Linked DNA regions of Homo sapiens: regions 2, 3, 4, 5 and 6 are each linked to region 1. The links are contacts of gene promoters, found by promoter capture Hi-C in blood cells and fetal thymus (Javierre and others, 2016). All regions are on one chromosome and are shown on one strand. Each heading gives the region's core, a stretch centred on a gene start or on the middle of the fragment in contact. The rest is flanking DNA. Distances are from core to core; before and after follow the strand shown.

What was found. Contacts are between HindIII fragments. The CHiCAGO score rates a contact against its expected background, and 5 or more counts as called.
Region 2: a fragment that was not itself captured here is called in contact with the fragment with the promoter of FBXO40 in region 1 in 4 of 17 cell types (erythroblasts, naive CD8 T cells, total CD4 T cells and 1 more); the score reaches 7.2 in erythroblasts.
Region 3: a contact is called between a fragment that was not itself captured here and the fragment with the promoter of FBXO40 in region 1, in 1 of 17 cell types (erythroblasts). The highest score is 5.9, in erythroblasts.
Region 4: a fragment that was not itself captured here is called in contact with the fragment with the promoter of FBXO40 in region 1 in 1 of 17 cell types (total B cells); the score reaches 5.4 in total B cells.
Region 5: a fragment that was not itself captured here is called in contact with the fragment with the promoter of FBXO40 in region 1 in 1 of 17 cell types (erythroblasts); the score reaches 5.5 in erythroblasts.
Region 6: a contact is called between a fragment that was not itself captured here and the fragment with the promoter of FBXO40 in region 1, in 1 of 17 cell types (erythroblasts). The highest score is 5.1, in erythroblasts.

Annotation. Positions count from the first base shown.
Region 1 is chr3:121,591,343-121,595,229 of GRCh38, reverse strand. It overlaps FBXO40 (F-box protein 40), which reads right to left and starts at 1,851. Exons shown (of 4, transcript NM_016298.4): 1 at 1,728-1,851. LOC124906360 (small nucleolar RNA U13) reads right to left here; the gene lies at 3,836-3,887. RefSeq lists enhancers at 1,179-1,830, 1,831-2,481, 1,295-2,494 and a silencer at 1,614-1,908. The HindIII fragment of the contact is 3,467 bases long and covers 405-3,871 here.
Region 2 is chr3:122,309,787-122,313,673 of GRCh38, reverse strand. No RefSeq gene overlaps it. Among named protein-coding and RNA genes, the nearest start is that of CSTA, 14 kb to the left of the region's middle. The HindIII fragment of the contact is 3,199 bases long and covers 222-3,420 here.
Region 3 is chr3:122,288,139-122,292,025 of GRCh38, reverse strand. It overlaps CASR (calcium sensing receptor), which reads right to left. Exons shown (of 7, transcript NM_000388.4): 7 at 397-3,887. Among named protein-coding and RNA genes, the nearest start is that of CSTA, 35 kb to the left of the region's middle. The HindIII fragment of the contact is 3,949 bases long and covers 175-3,887 here.
Region 4 is chr3:122,263,374-122,267,260 of GRCh38, reverse strand. The region is part of intron 4 of CASR (calcium sensing receptor); the gene reads right to left. Among named protein-coding and RNA genes, the nearest start is that of CSTA, 60 kb to the left of the region's middle. RefSeq lists a silencer at 2,073-2,174. The HindIII fragment of the contact is 259 bases long and covers 1,794-2,052 here.
Region 5 is chr3:122,246,092-122,249,978 of GRCh38, reverse strand. All of the region lies in intron 1 of CASR (calcium sensing receptor), which reads right to left. Among named protein-coding and RNA genes, the nearest start is that of CASR, 64 kb to the right of the region's middle. The HindIII fragment of the contact is 3,946 bases long and covers 47-3,887 here.
Region 6 is chr3:122,121,652-122,125,538 of GRCh38, reverse strand. No RefSeq gene overlaps it. Among named protein-coding and RNA genes, the nearest start is that of CASR, 60 kb to the left of the region's middle. The HindIII fragment of the contact is 3,590 bases long and covers 459-3,887 here.

The sequences.
Region 1 (3,887 bases), core at 602-3,101:
AGGCATAATGATAACCCAGACACCTATAGCAGAGTCTTGGGGTACATATGGAGGTTACAGAGACAGGCAGGAAGGAACCAGGAGTTAAGGTATCTGAATAGTTAGTTTAGGTCTCCTTTTACTTGGCATCGGTGGCTTTAGCCTGTACACATCAAAGGTCAGAGTGTACAGAATCCCTTTTGCTGCATAGGCCACTTCCCAGGATGTCCTTAGCTGAACTTTGAACCAGTGAAAAACAAGAAAATAAACACTGCTCCCTTACCTTGCCAATTTTTAGTGCATGCAACACTATACAGTTATTCCAGAAGCGAGAAACTATCTGTCTAAAGTTATAACTTTTGATACCTCAAGTATCATTAGTCATTTTACTTTTATCCCTCTGAATATGCAAAATTGTTCAAGCTTGTAACAATCTTTGGTTTTGGTGCATAAGCCTATATAAGTTTTTCAACTTGAGAAATATTTCACTTATATTTCATGGATGCATTTTGGACTCAAGAGAGCTGGGGAGAAGAGGGCCACACTTAGAGAATATTGTTGGCGAAAAAAAGGTGTTAAACTCTGCGGAGTTTGAATAGTATATACAGAAAATACAGTTGTGCTTATTAACCAGTAGTATGACACAGCAGACGAAATTTTAAGCTACATGAGAATGACTTGCAAGCAAACATAGCAAATGTTGACTGGAGAAAAGATCACAGCATTTAGACTTTAGAAAACAGAAATTCTGATCAGGCACAGCGGCTCATGCTTGTATTCTCAGCACTTTGGGAGGCCGAAGCGGGTGGATCACTTGAGGCCAGGAGTTCAAGACCAGCCTGGCCAACATGGTGAAACCCCATCTCTACTAAAAATACAAAAATTAGCCAGGCGTGGTGGCACAGGCCTGTAGTCCCAGCTACTCAGGAGGCTGAAGCAGGAGGCTCTCTTGAACCTAGAAGGTGGAGGTTGCAGTGAGCTGAGACTGCACCACTGCACTCCAGCCTGGGCAACAGAGTGAGACTCTGTCTCAAAAAAATAATAACAATGAATTAAATAAATAAATAAATAATAGAAATTCTGGGCCAGGCACAGTGGCTCAGACCTGTAATCCCAGCGCTTTTGGAGGCTGAGGTGGGCGGATCATTTGAGGCCAGGAGTTCAAGACCAGCCTAGCCATCAAGGTGAAACTCTGTCTCTACTAAAAAAATACAAAAATTGGCCGGATGTGGTGGCATGTGCCTGTAGTCTCAGCTACTCGGAAGGCTGAGGCAGGAGAATCACTAGAACCTGGGAGGTAGGGGCTGCAGTGAGCCAAGATGGTGCCACTGCACTCCAGCCTGGGTGACAGAGCAAGACTGTCTCAAAAAAGAAAGAAAAGGGAATAGAAATCCTGGATTCTAGGCCTTCCACTTGTTTCCTCACCACCTCCTCCACTTCCCCAGATCCCCCCACCCATCACCATGTTGTAACTTTACAGATATCATAACTACTCTTGTTGATTATAGAAGAAAGAACCTAAGCTGTCAGAAAGCAAGTACTCTACCTGCTCTTGAAATGGAAACAGAAATTTACACACGGCTGGATCTCATTCTCAGTGCCAGCCTTTCCCCCACATCTTTACATAACTAATTTGCTTAACAATCCTCTTCCACAGGACACAAAAGTGATATGCGGCTCAGCTTCATCTGCATATTCACCACTGAATGTCCTCGTCATGGTGCACCTGCTCCTGTTTGAATACTTACCTTAATGGAACAGGCTGAGTCAGCATCTGCTTGCACCTGAACCCTTGATTGCAAGTAAGCGGATTGCCGGGAGGTGGCTGGGTTGCATCAGCTGCAGTAGAGGACAGCGTTCTGTTGGGAAGGCAGGGAAAGGAGAGAAAACTTCAACAGAAATAGTCCAAGTGTTGCGAAGTTAAAAATAAAACGATATCACAAGGGGCAATGTGACCAGGCTCAGCTTACGACTTTTTCCTTCCCCTGTATTTATCAACACTCAGTCTCTACTGGAGTGGCATTTAGCAGGGGAAACTGAATGGGAAGTGAAGTTTTATATCAATAGGTTTTCTTTCCCTTGAGGAAGGAGGAAAATCCTTTTAAGAAGGATCATTTTCAAGGCCAGAACAGCCTCTCAGATTCCTGCATGTGCAGTCGGCAGGCCCAGCTGTGCTGAAGGAGGCTGGCACAGCCTTCAGGACTGGCTGCTGCTCTAATTATAACCATGCTCCTCACCTAAACCCATCACTGGCTGAAGCAGCAACTTGTGCAAATGACATGGTGTCCTGCTTCAGTTTCTCCTATCTCTTGTCGTGACAAGTAAGTGTCTGTCCTCCCCTGGTCCTTTCATCTTTCCTGGAAAAGGGAGAGTTTGTAATTCAGATACCAGGTGTAGAGTAAATCCAGTGTGAGAGAATTAGAGGTTGTAGGAGGCTTTAGCTGTCATTTAGTCCAGCTCCCTCTTTTTACAGATGAGGAGACAGAGATTCAGAAAAGGGAAATTGCTCATCCAAGGTCACACATCTCGTTAGTGGAAGAGCCAGAGGAAAGCCCCAGAGAGCTTGTTTAACTCTCAGTCTAGCGTTCTTTATCTTATCATCTTCAGATAAACTCATTCAGGATCTTGTGAGTGAAAAAAATATAGAATCCCGGCTTTGGTGTTTTCTTTTTCTTTTTTTTTTTTTTGAGACAGAGTCTCGCTCTGTTGCCCAGGATAGAGTGCAGTGGCGTGATCTCGGCTCACTGCAACCTCCACCTCCTGGCTTCAAGTGATTCTCCTGCCTCAGCCTCCTGAGTATCTGGGATTACAGGCACGTACCACCATACCTGGCTAATTTTTGTATTTTTAGCAGAGACGGGGTTTCACCATGTTTGTCACGCTGGTCTCGAAATCCTGACCTCATGATCCTCCCACCTCAGCCTCCCAAAGTGCTGGGATTAGGTATGTGATTTTGACAAATTTACTTAACCATTTTCTATTTCAGTTTTCCCCATTGTGAAATGGCGATGATACTTGGTGCGACCACAGGTAACTGTGTCAGTACACATAAGGCACATGAATGATATGTACCACATGCCAAGTGCTCCACAATGCCAGCTGTTATTTGAATGTATTTGAATGTATTTTGACTAACAGCAGATGTGCTAAATTTGGCTGTGATTAACAGCCATCGAATTAACCTTTCCCCTGGATTCTTCATACATATATGTCCTTGGAGGTAAACTTATTTGGAATGAGCAAATAGCAGTTGAAAATTGTAAAAAATTTCTACACTGATCTTGTATCTTGAAACTTTGCTGAACTGGTTTATTAGTTCTAATAGTTTTCTTGTGGATTCCTTAGGATTTTCAAGACCATGCCATCTGTTAACAAAAATATTTTAACTTCTTTCTTTGCGATTTGGATGCCTTTAACTTCCTTTTCTTGCTGTTTTTCCCTGCCTAGAACTTCCAGCACTATGTTTAACAAGAGTGGTGAGAGTGGCCACACTTCACTTGTTCCTGATCTTAGGGGGGAAGCATTCAGTCTTCCACCAATAAGTACAATGTTACCTGTGGATTTTTGTAGATGGCCTTTATCAAGTTGAAGGAGAGGAGTTTGATAGTTTGTTCTAGTTTGTTGAGTGAATCAAGAAAGAGTGTGGATCTTCATCAAATGCTTTTTCTGTGCCCAGCAAGATGATCATGTGGTTTTTGTCCTTTATTCTATTAATATCGTGTATTACATTGATGAATTTTTTTATGTTGAATCAATCTTCCATTCCTGAATAAACCCTACTTGGTCATGGTATCTATCCTTTTTATATGTTGCTAAATTTAGTTTGTTAGTATTTTATTGAGAATTTGTTTTTTCAAGTCAGATGCATAATGTGCCAATGTTGAAACAAGCTTCGAGGGTAGCACTCA
Region 2 (3,887 bases), core at 572-3,071, 720 kb before region 1:
ATAGCGTATTAGCAACCCAAACCTTACATTAAACTAAACAAATGAGGTCTTGGCATAATACTTCTAAGATGTTGGCAATTTACAACTTAAAAGCTCATAGCATAGAAACTGAGGGGGAATATTGCCAGGAATTATGCAAACATACTGGCGGTGATGACTTTGCAACATCTTTCAAATTCACCCTTCCTTGCTGTTTTCATAGCTATCACTCCCTTAAAGCTTTCATCACCCTCTTATTGGCTTATTGTTGACACTCCCTGGTTGGATCCTACCCTTCTAGTTTCTCCTGAAAACCAAGCTCTTTCTCATACACTGAAAAAATATTGCTTCCTAACTTGGGTACTTCCTGTCGTCTATCAAATTCATTTACAATTTTAAGAATAGCCTCCAAGTACTCACAGGTCTTCCTGAACCAGATTCTCTCTCAGAGTTTCTCTCTAGCTGGGTCCTCTTAGATCCTCTTGCACCTCTTTCTCATTCTCATTCTTGCTCCTGTCTCCTTGTTCATACAATGCCCCTTGAAAAGGATGTCATTCCTTCTGTTCTCCATTAATCTACATGCAATACTGCTTTCAAAAACCACACTACCCAAAGCCTTCTGTGGTTTCCTCTAGTTCTTGGTTTGTACTACATATTCCTGTTATCTCAGTTATTACACATATATTTTCTGTTTATCTTCTTGCTGATCTGATTATAATCTCTTCCATGGCAGAAACTGTTGTCTTGATTGTTAGCCATCACATCTCCCAGATTATGAAACACAGCAGCTGCCCAGCAAATATGTGAACAAATTCATAGATCTCACCACTTTCTCATTGGGAGAAGAGGGCAACCAGCCAACATGGACTTCTGGAGTCCTTGAAGGGCATTGGATAAACATGTCTTTGTCAAGTTTTAGGCCAGGCGCTGTGGCTCACGCCTGTAATCCCAGCACTTTGGGAGGCTGAGGCGGGTGGATCATGAGGTCAGGAGTTCAAGACCTGCCTGGCCAACATAGTGAAATCCCGTCTCTACTAAAAATACAAAAATTAGCCGGGCACGGTGGCGCCTGCCTGTAGTCTCAGCTACTCAGGAGGCTGAAGCAGGAGAATCGCTTGAACCTGGGAGGTGGAGATTGTAGTGAGCCGAGATCACGCCACTGCACTCCAGCTTGGGCAACAGAGTGAGACTTCGTCAAAAAAAAAAAAAGAAAAAAAAAAAAAGAATCCAAAGTAAAGAAAATACAACAGAACAGCCAGGAGTTCAAGGTTATATTCCCTGATGATCACAGGGCTCCAGTTTCTCTGCATTGCTGGCCAAGGGATGGCCCAGATGCTTGGACAGTTTGATCAGTAACTTAACAAGTCTGTTCGTATAAGTGAGTTGGTTGGCAGTCTCTATACATGGCCTGAATTAAGCCTGAGGCCTGGTAGTTTGATCCCAGCCAGCACAGTTATGGACCTGCTGGGTTGCACAGTTCCAGGAGCATTATTCATACCGTATTCTAAAATGGAGCTCAAGTTCGTGGGATGTTTTACTAAGAATATTTTATTATTTTTCAGTAAAAAAAGGTATGAAAAAAAGAAGGCTTTTGTGGAATGGCTTTAACTTCATCCCAATTTTCAAAAGAGGGCTTTCTGGAGGTAGAGTACCACAGCAGTTAACAGGGTAGTGCAGGCCAGATGGACAGAAGTGAGGGGAGTCGGTGTAACTGACAAGCACTGGGAATTCCTGAATGAGAGAGCTGAGCATGTCCCTTTGGAGTGAGGGACAGCTGAATTCAATAATCTGCATAGCTGTGTAAACCTGGGCAGGTGACTTCACCTTTCTGAGCATCTGTTTCCTTGTCTGTAAAATGAAGATAATAATAACTACCTCACAGGGTTGTGAGAATTAAATGGAAAATGTATGTAGAAAATTTAACTCCGTGTCTGGTATATATGTAGTTAGTGTTCCTAAATGGAAACATATTTTTGTTTCCAGACACCTTATAAACTATAGCAACCATCCTTACGTTTTTTGTCCTCAGCTGCATTGTGAAGGGTCTAGAAATATAAAGGGAGATGAAGAAAGTAAAACCGGATAGAAGGATGCATTTCGATTTTTGGGTTAATTTTTCAATATTTGAAATAGAAGAGATAAAAGTCTCATCACTATAACCAAGCCAGGTTGGATACCTAAGTAGTTTTTCTTCTTTCCTTTCATAATGTAAAATGTGGCACTTAGTAGAGATGTTGGGTGGATAATATTGGGTGGTCTCTTGGTTACAGGGTCTACTTCTGACTGACTCCTTTACCTTCTCCTGTATATTGTCATCCTTTCACAGTCCATGCCTTGGTCTTCTCATTTCCCAAGTCAGAAAGATGGGTGTTATCCTCCAGTCTTCTTTCATGCTCAGCTCTCTCATCCAGGAATTCCCAGTGCTTGTCAGTTACATCGACTCCCCTCACTTCTGTCCATCTGGCCTGCACTACCCTGGCTCAGGCCATGGTTATCTCACCGCTGAAGAACAGCAATAGCTTCCCCTGGCCTCCTCCTGCAACCATGCTCCTCTTTCTACACACAATATCCAAATATTTCTTCTAGAAAGCAAAGCCAATTGTATTATTTCCTTAATGAAAGTCCTTCAATAGTTTTCCGTTATCCTTAGAGTGTACTTCTCAGTCTTTAGCACAGCCCTCTCTGACCTGGCTCCTATCAAGTTCTCCTAAGGTGCCCTATTCCTCTTGCTTCTTTGCTTAGGTTGGAAACACTTCCTTTTGCTTCCGTTTGCCAGCCTGATTTCTATTGATCCTTCATGCCTGTTATGGTTTGAACTGTGTCCCCACCTAAATTCATATGTTGAAGTTCTAACCCACAGTACCTCACAGTGTGACCGTATTTGTGTGCCCAGATTTGGCAATGACAGGGGAGCTCTTCTTCATCACATTCAAAATTTTTCACTAGTTATGCCTAAGACCAGTGCTGTTCCTGCTTCTGATACCATTCCTCTACCTTATCTGACCTACAAGCCTATGTGAGAAGGTGAGGCTGTCAGATTTCTCCTGAAATAAATGAGACAGAGCAGAGCCTGAAGAGAGAGGGTGGGGTCAGCAGTTACGAAGTCTAGGACAAGTAGTTAGACCAGATGTTTACACAACAGGTTCTTCATGACTGAACCTGTGAGCCAGGACATTCATCAACTATATAACATATCAAGGTTATTTCCTGGTTCTGTAGTCATTTGTGGGGTGGTAGTACAATCATAGTACAGTCTTCTCTTTGGATCAGTAATTAGTATATGTATGATTTGAAAAATATTTTTATTAAGCACATTAATATCTGAGAATTAAAACAATAAGTACATTTTCCATGGGACAGACAGGAAATTTAATTAGTATAAACAATTTCCTTGGTGAGCAAGAAAGCCCAACCAGAGACTGAGATAATTTCAGGGAAGCTTTCTTTTCTTTATTATTCTCGTCATTGAAGATCCCTGCTCTTGTTTTTTTAAAACCATTTTTTGAAGTACAGCATATACATAGTGTACAAATCATACTTCAATAAATGCTTTTAGTTTTAAAAATATTTCTCTAATTATAAAAATAACACATGTGCATTGTAGAAATGTAGCTGCCCAATGTGTTCACCATGCTCGCTGTCTAGACAGAGCCCTATCAAGACAGGGAAATTGTAATGGAGAAAGAGTAATTCACATAGAGTCGGCTGTGTAGGAGACCACGATTTTATTATTACTCAAACCAGTCTCCCTGAGCATTTGGGGATCAGAGGTTTTTTTTTTTTTTTTTGAGACGGAGTTTCGCTTTTGTTGCCCAGGCTGGAGTGCAATGGGGCGATCTTGACTCACCGCAACCTCTGCCTCCTGGGTTCAAGCAATTCTCCTGCCTCAGCCTCCGGCATGTGCCACC
Region 3 (3,887 bases), core at 900-3,399, 700 kb before region 1:
ATTTTTTGTATTTTTTGTACAGATGAAGTTTCACCATGTTGCCCAGGCTTGTCTCACACTCCTGACCTCAAATGATCCTCCTGCCTTGGCCTCCTAAAGTGCTGGGATTACAGGCATGAGCTACCATGCCTGGCCTATGTACTTTTCATAGTGGAAAGTGAGACAAAGAAAGCTTAAGTGCCTCATCCAAAGACGTGTAACTTATCTGTCATACTGCCTAGAATCCCCCTCTTTTCCACTATTCTATGTCCTCGGCCCGTTCAGAAATTTAAAAGTCCCATGAAACTCTTGGGAGCTAATTAGAGCTCTGGAAAAATTTGTAGGAGGGGTGACTGACCCAATATGGTGATTCCTATCTAATATGATATGCTTATCTGTTTAAAATTTGGTTGCATGTTTATTTTAAATTCTTTTCTTTATTTTCCTGTTATAATTTTGTGCTTAATATACAAAACTTGGGAAAAATTTAGAAAATCCTAAAGAAGCAGAAACAATTATCCATTAGTCCACTACCAAGCAATCTTCATTTATAATGCTCATCATCACTGGCCATCAGAGAAATGCAAATCAAAACCACAATGAGATACCATCTCACACCAGTTAGAATGGCGATCATTAAAAAGTCAGGAAACAACAGGTGCTGGAGAGGATGTGGAGAAATAGGAACACTTTTACACTGTTGGTGGGACTGTAAACTAGTTCAACCATTGTGGAAGTCAGTGTGGCGATTCCTCAGGGATCTAGAACTAGAAATACCATTTGACCCAGCCATCCCATTACTGGGTATATACCCAAAGGATTAGAAATCATGCTGCTATAAAGACACATGCACACATATGTTTATTGTGGCACTATTCACAATAGCAAAGACTTGGAACCAACCCAAATGTCCAACAACGATAGACTGGATTAAGAAAATGTGGCACATATACACCATGGAATACTATGCAGCCATAAAAAATGAGGAGTTCGTGTCCTTTGTAGGGACATGGATGAAGCTGGAAACCATCATTCTCAGCAAACTAATACAAGGACAAAAAACCAAACACCACGTATTCTCACTCATAGGTGGGAATCGAACAATGAGATCACATGGACACAGGAAGGGGAACATCACACACCAGGGCCTATTGTGGGGTGGGGGGAGGGGGGAGGGATAGCATTAGGAGATATACCTAATGGTAAATGACGAGTTAATGGGTACAGCACACCAACATGGCACATGTATACATATGTAACAAACCTGCACGTTGTGCACATGTACCCTAAAACTTAAAGTATAATAAAAAAAAAAGAATAAAGAAAAATTTGGAGGAGGGGTGACTGACCCAGTATGGTGATTCCTATCTAATATGATATACTTATCTGTTTAAAATTTGGTTGCATGTTTATTTTAAATTCTTTTCTTTATTTTCCTGTTATAATTTTGTGCTTAATGTACAAAACTTGGGAAAAATTTAGAACATCCTAAAGAAGCAGAAACAATTATCCATTAGTCCATTACCAAGCAATCTTCATTTATAATGAGTGTATATTTATAATTTATAAGTTTCTCATTTATAATGAGAGGTCAGATAGAAACAAAACATTTAAAGAAAATCAGGACATTCTGAACAATAACCACATCTTTGGGTTGATATCAACGAAGACAATCACATTCTTCCAAAAACATTTCCTGATGCCTTTACAGGAAATCCTGTAATGACCCCAGGGTTTATTCTTGGGCTTTGATCTCTTACCTATTTTCACCAAACTTGAAAATATTTGCCATCCATGTGCTGAAACTTCAGTCACAGAGTTTGCTGCTTTTATTTGTTCTAACTTCCTGCGCTATCTAGTTACCCAGGTGCCCACATTTTAGAGGCAGGGAGCTGGTGCTGTATCTCTATTATTCCCCCCGCCTCTACCAATAAAATTGTTTTTCTTCTTCTTTTTTTTTTTTTTTGGCAGGGTCTTGCTCTGTCACCCAGGCTGGAGTGCAGTGGTGCAATCACAGCTCAATGCAGCCTTCACCTCCTGGGCTCAAGCAGATCCCCCCACCTCAGCCTCCTGAGTTATCTGCCACTACAGGCGCATGCCACCATGTCCAGCTGTTTTTTTTTTTTATTGTTTGTAGAGATGGGGTTTTGCCATGTTGCCCAGGCTGGTCTTCAACTCTTAGGGCTCAAGTGATCCTCCCACCTCAGCCTCCCAAAGTGCTGGGATTGCAGGCATGAGCCTCTGCATCTGGCCTCAGCTGTTGATTTAAACAGGTACCCCTGCTTGTCTCCACTCCAAGTGTCCTCCACTCTTGTCCAGGGGTCAGGGGAGGGGATGAATGTGGTGGTTATTCCCAACAGAGGAGAAGGTTCCCCTAGCCCCACTCGGTGCTAGAGTCACAGTTGTCCCTCCAGTTCCCAGAGGCACCTTCATGCTGGCTCTGCCCGGCTTCCTGCCCTGTTGGCCTTCACCTAGCAGTTCTCCATTTCTCATACCACTTGCTGAGCTTTTCCTCTCAAGGCTAAGGTTCTTCTTTGGATCCTTGGAATGCACCTTTATTCCTGTGACAGGTTCTACCCTGTGCTTGTTGTTTCCCTGACCCCTGCCTCACTCCTTGCATAATAGCAAAGTCACTCAAAGTTGTCATCCAAGTCTTGATGTTTTTTTTCCATGATCTGGGCCAGGAAAACCAGCATCTCCCAGAGGCTGTGATCTCACTGTGGCAACTTCCTCCCACCTACCCTAATTCCACCCACCTTTGGGAGTATTCTTGTCTCCAGTGGACTCCTAAAATGACCACTCAGGCTCAGACAAATGAGGGCCACCTCCTCCGGTGATTAGCACCCCTTATTGATGTTCCATTATTCTTGTAGCAATAATTATTTCAAATGCAGCAGATGAGCAAAGGGAAGCTCTGGCTGGGCAGAACCAGCCCGTAGCTATGTGATTTCAGCCAGAGCAAAACGACAGACAACATTGCCTTGAAATGTGCCTTTTGGAGACAGAGGTAGGGTAGCCCCAACTTCCCCAAAATCAAAATTAATGCAATTAGACAACGTGTGACGATCATAGGGACTTTCAGGGTATTGATGTTATATGCTGATCGTCACCTCTAAATTTCCAACCTAAATTCTTAAAATCTTCTAGGACACTTTCATTTGAGTGAAAATCTTTTTAACTTTATAATTCATTTTAATTTTCAAAAGAAATGTAAGCAGTTTCCCATTGTTAACAAAACCTAAGAAATATTTTAAAAAGTAATTAAAAGGTGATCATATATTTACCTCCTGACTTCCTTTATTCAAGAGAAAAGCAAACACTAGTTTGTTGAAGCTACCAATTTCAGGTTTCTGCTACTGACAGATAATAGAATGAGACAACACGGCTGTGTATTTTCTATAACCAAAGCCAGCAAAGACTTAGAATATGAGGTTTATACTTTCCCAAGCAGATGTAGAGGAATAGAATATTAGAGGGGAAGGAGTGAGCTAGGTGAAGGGAAGAGGACCACAGTGAGAACAGGAATAGATCTCTGAGACAGGCTCTGGCTGCCAAAACTCAGGGAAGGAGATAACAATACAAATGTATTTGTTTTCTGTTGCTGCTGAAACAAATTACTATAAACTTCATGGCTTAAAACAACACAAATGTATTATCTTACAGATCTGGAGGTCCAAAGTCCTACAAGGGTGTCACTGGGCTAAAATCAAGATGTTGGCAGGGCTGCATTCCTTTCTGGATGTTTTAGGGGAGAATCGGTTTTCTGGCATTTGCCAGCTTCTAGAAGCAGCCTGCCTTCCTCAGCTCATGTCCACTTCCCTACGCAAAGGCAGTACAGGCCAGTGGTGTTTTTCTCATACTGTATTGCTCTCACACTGACTCTTCTGCTTCGTCCACATTTAAGGGCC
Region 4 (3,887 bases), core at 674-3,173, 670 kb before region 1:
TAAACATCTTTAATATTTCTTTTGGCAGGCTGACTTGCAAGTTTTGCATTTGGGCGTTTTATTTTCTGCATAATATCTTGCCTTTAATTCACATAACAGGGAAGATGGAGATGAAAACCATTTCACTCCTAAGAGCAATGACAGGGAATCTTTAAATTGATAATGATTGATCCACAAAAAAAGCAACATAAGTTAGAAGATAATTTAGATATCTGCCCGAGAGAGAACACTCTTTTTATTATTTATTTATTTATTTTGAGACGGAGTCTCGCTCTGTTGCCCAGGCTGGAGTGCAGTGGTGCGATCTTGGCTCACTGCAATTTATGCTTTCTAGGTTCAAGCAATTCTCCTGCCTCAGCCTCCTGAGCAGCTGGGACTACAGGTGCCTGCCACCACACCCGGCTAATTTTTTGTATTTTTAGTAGAGACAGGGTTTCACCACGTTACCCAGGCTGGTCTCGAACTTCTGACCTCATGATCCACCCACTGTGGCCTCCCAAAGTGTTGAGACTATAGGTGTGAGCCACTGCCCCTGGCTTCTTTTGCTTTTAAAAAGGAACTGACAGTTCCTTTTAAAATGAAATATAAAATTTTACTTGAGATTATTATCCAATATTATATGCTTCCAAATTATTTATTTTATTTGGGGAGTAATATGAGGAAAAAGAATAAACGAAGGGGAAGAGAAACAAAAAAAGCTAGTAGAAAGATCCAAACATAGGAGTACTGCTTGAACCTGGGAGGCGGAGTTTGCAGTGAGCCAAGATCGGGCCGCTGCATTCCAGCCTGGGTGACAGAGCAAGACTCTGCCTCAAAAAAACAAAACACAAACAAACAAAAAGATCTGAACATAGAACATAACATACAGACACAAAGAGACTTACAGGCTCACAAAGAAAACACCACCAAGAAAGACACATAGATCTAAAAGAGGGGCAAATACAGGACATGCATGCACTTAGAAGCTAACATACTCTTTTATGCCATAATATTCCCATCTTGTGGTCTTTTAGGGTATTTCCCCTAAAAGATTTTAAAGTCAAACGGTTGCTCATTATAAGCATAAATGGAAATCACCTCTTGGCACACATTCTTAGTAGCGTCAATTGAATTAAACTGAACATTAGAGACTAGAAACCCCCCCACTCTGGTCTAGGACTTCCAGCTCTTATACAGATAATGAGGGCCAGGTCACACAGATAATGAACAAGATAATGAAGTTCATTATCTTGCCCAGTTCCTGTGGTAAGAGCATGGGGAAGATCCAGGCCCAATTCCCTTCTCTAACGCCAGCCATGTTTTCTTATCTCCCTTCCATCTTCTCTGGCTGTCCTCACAATTTATCCCCCATTCCCCAACTTCCAGCAGTACCAGGAATTCCTAGAAAGATCAGCTCCATCTGACTTCCATCTTCACCATGGCTGCACGCCTGTTTTCTGACTAGTGAGTGTTGGTGTGAGGTGCAGGAGAGTAGGAAGCACACCTTGTGCATGATCATCCTGAGAGAAGAAAGAAGGTGATTTCATACTTACATGATGTTCCACTCAAACTTGATAGTGGGCACGTGACCAAAGCTTGTCCAAACAGAGCCTAGAATACCTTGGCCACAGTGATTGATTCAAGAATGGGTTGTTGGCTCAAACGGTTCCCTGCAAAGGCCTATAGGTAGTGTTGACAGGTCAAATCAACTAGACTGCTATTCACTCATTCATTCATTCAATGAATATTCCAGCGACAGGCATTCTGAACATAGTACTGAACAATACAGGCATGGTTCTGGATCTTATGAAGCTTAGAGTACAGCAAAGGAGTAGTGAAGAGAGAGCTGGGAAGGGATGTGAGGAGGGCTTGGGGGTCTCCAAGAAGAGGTCAGGAGGCAATTGTGAGTTGTATGCTCATAAATCACCTGCTAGTGCTACTTTTGAGGCATATGAGTTGACTGATAAATATTTTTTTGGGGAGAAAGAAAGGAAAAAAATTGTGATTGACCCTTATAACCAGAATTTTAACTAATAAGTGTCTATTTCAGTCAATTAAAGAGCTGTGGAAGCTTAAGCTGGGTATATAAACATCAAAAATGAGGAAGCGAGAATGATCAGAAAATGTGTTGTGGGAATACGATTTGAAAAGACTTCCAGGGGAAAGTGGATTTTGAAAACAATTTAAATGTTCCTGGTGGAAAATGACAGCAGAGATAAAAATTGATGGCCCTTCTGGTGTGGGCTATGGCCTATGCAAAGATGCTGTGCCAAAAACTAATGAGTGATTTGTGAGGAGGTGTCATGCAGGTTGGCTTATAGGGGAAGAACTGAGAGAAGGCAGACATGGAGTTCCAGCTGGAGACTTGGATTAGATTATAGGTGATAAGTTTCCATATAGATCTTAATATTGAGAATGAATGAATAATTGCTAGTTGATTTCCTGATGAAGATATAGGTCTTAATAATGAGAATGAATAATTGCTAGTTCATCTCCTGGCCAAGACCTCAAATTCTGGAACGCCCATCCAACAGCCTGGGTTCCTGAGGCTCAAAGGAGACTCACACCAAGCACTCAGGACATTTTGGCCAATTTCCCATGTCATTCCTCCCTAGAGTTCTGATCCCATTTTCCTATCTGTGCTGTCTCCTGGGGAGATTTTTCCAGACCATGTAAGAGTCAGGAGAACATATCTTTACCTGGGCCATGGTTGGGTGAAGTGTCTGTGTAGTGGACATTTTGAATGTTGGCTGCTTTGCTTCTATTTCTTCCTCCTTTTGGTAATGGCATCCTGACTTCCCACTGGAGATTCACTCCCCCCTTACTCTAAGTCTATGTAGTCTGGAGGACTGCTAGCATCAGGGATGGATCCATGACTTAGGAATGGTCAATAAATGTGGTTTCTGGAACTTTTACAGGATATCTTGGGAAGTAAGGAGATCCTAGCTTCAAGCTGCTACAGAAGCTGAAAATTGCTAACCCTGGGGAATGAAGAACAGAAAGATGAGATGAAAATACCTAGCTGTACCTGGAACACTTCTGAGATTTTTAGTGACATGACCCACTCACTACATTTCCTCTTTTTTTGTTTATGCCAATTTGGTTAGGGCTTTCTATTACACAACTAAAAGTCCCAGTTGTGACTGTAGCCTGTCATGGCTTTTTTTTTTTTCTCACAGGTCCAAGGTCTGGTCTTGACCATCTGTATTTTATTTCCTTATCTGGAAGAGGAGCCATTGAAGAGTAGAACTGCCAAGTTTCCCCCTTGAAGCCTGTTTTTCCTTCAACCCTACTCTTGTCTTGCAGTTTTTTCAAGAACTGAGGTCCTCCTTGCATTGGACGTGAGAGGTAAGAAAGAAAAGACAATAGTAACAACCACCTAGAAGATTGCTCCCTTACTCCTCCTACTTAAAACCCCATACCTTAGCATCATCACTCCTGAAGACTTTAGAGTGCCTGACCTTTATTACAGCACCTCTATCTTGGCAAGGTAGGGGTTCCGTGTGAAGAAAGAAGCTCTGAGTACCCCACAGAAGTTAGAAACTTTAGCCAACAGTGATGGTTGGGTAAGAGGTTCCCATATAAGAAGGGCTGAGAACTTGAAGATTCTGGCCTATTTGACCAACTTAGACAGTCACTCCTTGTCTTTCATGAGAATCTCTACAGTGACTGATACAAGTTGTGTGCTTTTTGCTTCTTGGTATCCTTCCCAAAGGGTTTGTGGTGGTTGGGTTCTGTATACAAAGGTGTTCTAGTTATCATTTTTACCTAATTCATGGATTAATTAGAGCTGTACTGAAATCCTACTATAATAATCACACATCTGTTTAGAGCTTGAAAGTTTACAAATTGCTTTTACATATATCATGTCATTTAATGTCATGAACCTAAGTCAAAAGAACATTGAG
Region 5 (3,887 bases), core at 770-3,269, 650 kb before region 1:
AACAAGGAGCTACAACCTAGGAAATGATGGTGCCATGAGCTAAGCTTTTCATAGAGCAGAACCTTAATATTGAACTATTCCTGGACTTTTGCCTGACAGAGAAAAAAGGCTTCTGGCTGGTTTAAACCACTGTTATTATATATATTTTTTCTTACTGTAGTTATCTCCAACAGTATCTAGCAAAGAATCACAAATAAACTCATTTGTTCTCCTTACTATACATTTATTCCATTTAAATCATATATAATCATGTTTGCCTTCCTGCAAATGAGTGTTACAAACAAAGCTGAAGCTAGTATTTGTTCTTTCTCTCAATGGCAGATACATCTTGGAAGAAGAAATGATCCGTGCACCAGGTGGTTTTATGTTTAGAAGGTTCTTGACATCAGGAGGAGTGTTTCAGTACGGACAGATAATGGCTTGTTAGGCTTTTCAGCCAAGGATCGGAGATGAGGGCAGACCAGTCAATGGGTTCCATGGGTTCATGAAGTTATAAATTCGTGCAATGATTTACTCATTCAAAAAACATTTATTGAGCTCTCTATGTGCTAGATACCAGGGAGTGCAAGACACTAGGGAAAGAAAGTTGAAATTTTTGCCTTCAAGGTGCTCAAGGTTTAAAAAGAGACAGAAAGGCGCATTATAAGGACGGTGATCTAAATGTTATAAAGAGGCATGGTTTAAGTGTTGAGGGAGCACAGAGCAAATAGTGATATTCTCTGGTGATTGCTGGGAAAGAGAATTAAGTCAAGGTGGGGACCAGAAACTTCATGAGGCCAAGGCCTGTCTCTTTTCTTCACCATTGTTGCCTAGCACCCAGCACAGCACCTGGCACAAATGATTCACAAATATTCGTTGAACAAATGTATGAAGTGTACACAGTAAAGACCAGAGGCTGGTTGGGCAATTCCTGGACAGGACAAGGAAGGGGTCACCCCACGAGACTGATGGTTCCTGTAGGCAGAGGCTTCTCCATGATCATAGCTGCATCCTCAGCATCAAACAAAGAACCTGGTACTAAATGGATGCTCTAAAAATGTCTGTTGAACTTGTTGTCCAAAGAGTAGCTACGTGGCTAATCCAAGTTCCGGAGTCAAAACAAGTTAACAGAGGATAGCAAAACAACGTCAGGAGTGAACACTGCCACATTTCAATTTTCTTCCAAATAAAAACCACCCCTACTCTCACCTCTTGGCCTCAACATTTCTGGAAATTGTGAATCTCTAGAGCAAAATGATTTTGCTCACATTTCAAATAGAGAAAACCCAGGCGCAGACCTTCTGAACATAAAATCACTCAGTAAATTAAAGGCACAGCAAGCTCAAAAGCTACTATTTTTGAATTCCTAGATGGCAAAAAAAAAAAAAAAATTCTAGGTTGCCTAGAAAAAAGAGAATTATAAGACCAAATTTGATTTCCAATAGAATTTATCTCCATAACGTGAGTACACTGCTATGTCTCTGGTTTATTGTACTGTAATCTTTACTCTCTTTCGTCACAATGATCATAAAGATACTAACAGTAGGGTCTGAAGCCACTATTGCAGAAAGGTGAAATGTGTATGTTTTAATGAGGGTGAACAGGAAAAATAAACCTGAAAAAGTTTAATCAATAATCACCAAACTCACGTGCCTGGCTGTAGTTGCAGCTTCCTTTACCTCTTGCTGAAGAGACATCCACAATATGGGTTTCTATACACAGCTGGTGCACATTTGCCAAAGAATTAGGGACTCTTACCTGCCATCACCAATACGGCCATCCCTAGTTCTATATCAGACTTCATTCCTTCTGTACCAAAGCAAGGCACATGTTGTTTTAAAATGAGGGCCCTCTTTCGGCACTGGGGGAAACACAAATTGCCCGGTCACCCTTGGCTGCCTCCCGCAAGCCCAAGCCCGGCTTCTGCTGTCTGCCTGCCAGCTGCACATGGTCTTGCCCTCCATCTCCCTGACAACAGGTGTGACTTTTGGGGAGTCCATGCCTCATTTAGTTCTGGTAATGGCTTAATTGAGTTGGAAAAATGCAAAGACAGGAGCGTAATGAAAAGCAGCTGAGCTGGGTGGGTTCTTGTGAGTCATTGGAAAAAGCTATCAGGGAAGGGAGGGAAAAGGATGAACAAGAGTGGTGAGGAGCAGCACAGGGCACAGAGCAAAGTGGGGAAACAGAAGCCTAGACAAAGCAAAGAAAGGCTGTAAATAGAGGAAGCTGACATTCATTAATGCTGCATCCTGAGCTCCTTGAAGACAGGGCCAGGTCTGTCCCATCCGCGGCCTGGAACATGGAGGGGCTCCATGATGATGGTTGAGTGGGTGCATACTTGTGTGTACTGCCGGCAACATAACAAACTCTGTGTCCACATAGGACTGAGTGAGTTGCTGGCGACATAGCCCACAGGAAGTTAAGAAACTTCTTGTCCTGAACTGTTTCCTTTATGCCTTAAGTCAGCTCTGCTGACGGATGTATGAACACCAACAGAGTTAATGAAATGGTTCATTTGAAAAGCGAAGATATGCAACTCATGTTTTTATAAAGAAAAATGCCAGAGCCTCAAGTCCTACATAAAAGAAACATTTCTGTGGAATAACATCCTGGCGTTGCCTCTCCAAATCATAAGGAACCCTGACTACCCAGGGTGGCATTTTTCAGTATGATGTCCCAAGATGTGTCACCAGGAAGTGTTCTGGGGTAAAACAAGTTTGGGAACTAATGTACACTCTGCCACAGGAGCACATATGCCTCCTTAAAGGCTCTGAGAAGTCCTGCAATAAAGATTATTGCTTATTTTGGTATGGGACACTTTTTTTCTTCCCTGAAGGACACTTTTCATGATGCCGTGAAACATGGGCTTGGAAGGGCTGACTGAGTGGAAAGCATAAAGTCTGTAATCTGAGATTCTCGCATTTGTTTAGGTGTATCTTTGAATGGGGAGATATGTCTGCCCCTCAATGGGCATAGCAGTTTTTGTAATCCCAGGTATGAAATTCCAAAGGGTATTATTGGAAAGAAGGACTCAGGTGGGGTGGGTGACTGCTGATGTAACTTTGAAGTCATTCTCTGGTCAGGCATATGTTTCTGTTCTCCGCTACTCCTGAGGGATGGGTTTCTATTGTACATAGAAAGTTGTACACTGAGCCTTTCCCCATCCACTTGCAACTCTCCTGACCTCACACAGTGTCTTTGTCTGAGGACCACTGGGGACATGTGGTGGTGTGCTTGTAGTCTGGCTTCTAAAAGAAAAACAAGACCTGACTTGTGGTGTATGCTAAATATTCCCACCATGGTCAGTTTCAAGCTACCAATGGTTTAACAACATATTTGTAAAAAATCTGAATATTTAACCATCGGCTCTCAAGCGCCGATAGAAGCCTGTTCTAGCACATCGTGGGGACATCTTTCTAAGCACATGGAAATTCTGGTTTTCTTTGGAAAACCTGGCCAAAATTATTTTATAGGCATTACAAATCTTCTCTCTTCTCCTGTTTCCTTCTTTGAGTGTTAGGAAGCTGTAAGCCAAGTTTGTGGCTCCGCTGTAGCTAAAATAGAAACCAAAAGCATGCATTTTAGTGTTCTAACATTACGTGTGCATTATTTTAAATTCTTGCACATATTTTACCCTGATTTCCTCAACACATTAAACCTTTCATTTTTATTAACAGCAACAGGGATATAAACACGAAAACAAACCAATAAATCTGGATTTTTGCTGTGAGCAATAAGAACTGTCCCCAGTTGAAACTCTCTGTGTAATTAACAGGAAAGGGTCTGGAAAAGTCATTCTTGCTTTATTAATTGAGTGGGTAGACACATCAGGTCATTAATCTAAAATACAGAATTTTAGAGATAGAAGGGACCTGGGAAGTTTATCTGGTTTACACTGAAACGTTCTG
Region 6 (3,887 bases), core at 1,004-3,503, 530 kb before region 1:
AAAAACAAACAACCTAATCGTTAATATCCTAAGAGAGTTAAGAGATAATATTTCAACCATTAGGAACAGGCTCCTTGCAAAAAGAAACATTCAGAAAACAAAAAGGAGCTCTGAAAATAAAACATGATAGCAGAAGTAAAAAGTACAACAGAAAGGCTGGAAGATAAACTTGAGAAAATCTCTAGGAAATGGAACAAAAAACAAAATATGGGCAACAGGAGAGAAAATAACAAAATTGGAGGATCAGTCTAGGAGATTCAACATTCAGGAATCTGACATTCTAAAATGAGAGACTAGTGAAATAGAGGGGAAAAATAATCAATGAAATAATTCAGGAAAATTTCCCTGGAGGAAAGGACATGAGTTTCCAGAAGAAAAGTCCATCTGAGTGTTAATCACAATGGACAAACAGGCATTTCATGACAAAATCTTAGAACACTGAGCAGATTCTAAAAGCTTTCATGTAAAAAGATAAGGAGTCAGAATATTTGTAGATTTCTCAAGAGCAACACTGGAAACTATGGACAATGAAAATAATTTCCAACCCAAATTTTTATACCAAGCAAAATTATTAATAGTTAAGCAGGAAAGTAAGATAAAGACATTTTCAGATACATAAAATTTCATTAAATATATTTCCCACAGATCCTTTCTCAGAAAGCTGCTGGATCAAGCTACTGAAGGATATGCACCACCAAAGTGAGGGGGTAAATCAAGAAAGACAACTATATGGACATAGGAATTGGGAGATCCCTTCAGGGTAACTGTTGCTCACCAGACCTAGGGTGTAACTTGTTCAGATTGGAGCAGGTTTTAAACTTTGTGACTAAGGACAGTGAAGGATTCTATATCTGTAAGTATCTTTTCTTCTGAAGTGAACAGGTAGACATAATAAAATCCAATGGAATCTCACTTTTATTATAAGATCCACAATGATGCTAGAATATTGGTGAGAATGAAAACTTATACATACAGATGTATGTTTTTAATATGAAGGATTACACTGAAGACTGATGTCAATCATCCTAGCAAGAGTATTCTGATTTCTTTAGACTGTAGTGTAAAGTAAAACCAAATCTGCCTGAGTAAGGGGAATATGTGTATGTGTGTGTACACACACTTAAAAATAGGCATACTGTGACTACGAATGGATACCCAGGAAGCTGGAGATCAGAGTTGTGTGGCTAGGGAAAGGGAATGTGAGGGAGACCTTTTCACTATTTACCTTCTTGTTTCTCTTGGTGTGTTGGACAGAATGAAGGGTAAGAGAGATAGGAGACTGGGATCAGTTGGGAGGTGACTGACATGTTTTTGGTATGAATAAAAAAGGTCCTGAATGAGAAAATAAGAGGTGGGTGTGAAAGTGGGAGGAATGCTTTCCTGGCCTAGTGATGACTGATAACAGAATGAGGCAGGAGCGAAGGGGTGAGCAGTGGGTGCTGAGGGAAAGGTTGAATGCAGTCATCAGAGATGACTCTTTGCTTTCAAGCCTGGGTTAATGTATTTGTTCCTTCTCACACTGCTAATAAAGACACACCCAAGACTGGTTAATTTATAAAGGAAGGAGGTTTAATTGACTCACAGTTCAGCAGGGCTGATGAGGCCTCAGGAAACTTAAATCATGGTGGAAGGGGAAGCAAACATATCCTCTTTCACAGGATGATAGGAAGGAGAAATGCCAAGCAAAAGGCAGAAAAGCCTCTTATAAAACCATCACATCTCATGAGAACTCACTCACTATCATGAGAACAGCAGCATGGGGGTAACTGCCCACATGATTCAATTACCTCCCACTGGGTCCCTCCCACAACACGTGGAGATTATGGGAACTACAATTCAAGATGAGATTTGGATGGGGACACAGCCAAACCATATAATTTCACCCCTGGCTCCTCCCAAATCTCATGTCCTTACATTTCAAAATACAATCATGCCTTTCCAACAGTCCCCCAAAGTCTTAACTCATTCCAGCATTAACCCAAAAGTCCCAAGTCCAAAGTCTCATCTGAGACAAGGCAAGCACCTTCCGCCTATGAGCCTGTAAAATCAAAAGAAAGTTAGTAACTTCCTAGATACAATGGGGGTACAGGCATTGGGTAAATATACCCATTCCAAATGGGAGAAATTTGCCAAAACAAAGGGGCTACAGGCCCCATGCAAGTCCAAAATCCAGTGGGGCAGTGAAATCTTAAAGCTCCAAAATGATCTCTCTTTTGTCTCCATCTCTCACATCCAGGTCATGCTGATGCAAGAGGTGGGCTCCCATGGCCTTGGGCAGCTTGGCCTCTTTGGCTTTGCAGGGTACAGCCCCCTCCTGACTTCCTTCATGGGTTGGCATTGAGTGTCGGTGACTTTTCCAGGCGCATGGTTGGTGGACCTACAATTCTGGGGTCTGGATGATGGTGGCCCTCTTCTCATAGCTCCACTAGGCAGTGCCCCAGTGGGGACTCTGTGTGGGGGCTCCAACCCCACATTTCCCTGCTGCACTGCCCTTGCAGAGGTTCTCCATGAGAGCTCTACCCCTGCAGCAAACTTCTGCCTGGACATCCAGGTGTTCCCATACATCCTCTGAAATCTACGGGGATGTTCCCAAACCTCAATTCTTGACTTGTGTGCACCTGCAGGTTCACTGTGCTGAAGCTGCCAAGCCTTGGGGCTTGCACCCTCTGAAGCCATGACCTGAACTGTATCTTGGCCTCTTTTAGCCATGGCTGGGATGCAGGGCACCAAGTCCCAAAACTGCACAAAGCAGCAAGGCCTCGGGCCTGGCCAGGAAACCGTTTTTCCCTCCTAGGCCTCTTGGCCTGTGATGAGAAGGGCTGCTGTAAAGAGTTCTGACATGGCCTGGAGACATTTTCCCATTATCTTGGCAATTAACATTTGGCTCCTTGTTACTTATGCAAATTTCTGCAGCTGGCTTGAATTTCTCCTCAGAAAATGGGTTTTCTTTTCTATCACATTGTCAGGCTGCAAATTTTCCAAACTTTTAAACATAAGTTCCAATTCCAAACCATATTTTTGGGAATACATAAAACTGAATGCTTTTAACAGCACGAAAGTTACATCTTGAATGCTTTGCTGCTTAGAAATTTCTTCCACCAGATACCCTAAATCATCTCTCTCAAGTTCAAAGTCCCACAAATCTCTAGGGCAGGGGCAAAATGCCACCAGTGTCTTTGCTAAAACATAGCAAGAGTCACCTTTATTCCAGTTCCCAACAAGTTCCTCTTCTCTATCTGAGACCACCTCAGCCTGTATTTCATTGTCCATATTACTATCAGCATTTTGGTCAAAGCCATTCAACAAGGCTCTGGGAAGTTCCAAACTTTCCTACATCTTCCTGTCTTCTTCTGAGCCCTCCAAACTGTTCCAACCTCTGCCTGTTACAAAGCTCTGCCACTTACAAAGTTAACAATGTTGGGTAAATTACTCTGACTTATCTCTGTGTTTATATTTTCTCATCAGCATAATGGGCATAATATTCCATTACCTACGTCACAGGGTCATTGTGAGGATTAAATAGGATAATGAGTTTAAAGGTTTAGATGAGTGACGGGTATATGGTAAATGTGAAATAATGTTAGCTAGTACTATTCTGCCTAATGACCTCTTTCAACCTTCTTTTTCTTTCCCCTAGTCTTAGAATACAGCAGTTCAGAGAATTTAATATACAAAGGAGGGATGTTCTCACCAAAGGGCATGTTAATATTTCATTCAATCTTTAAACAGATATGTTTTGAGAGAACAAAAAAGAATTCTGAAAAGAATACATGATAGCAGAAATAAAAATACAACAGAAGTTAGAAGATAAAGTTGAGGGAATCTTTAAGAAATACAACAAAAGACAAAAAGATGGACAATAGAATAGACAACTATCTTAGTTGTCT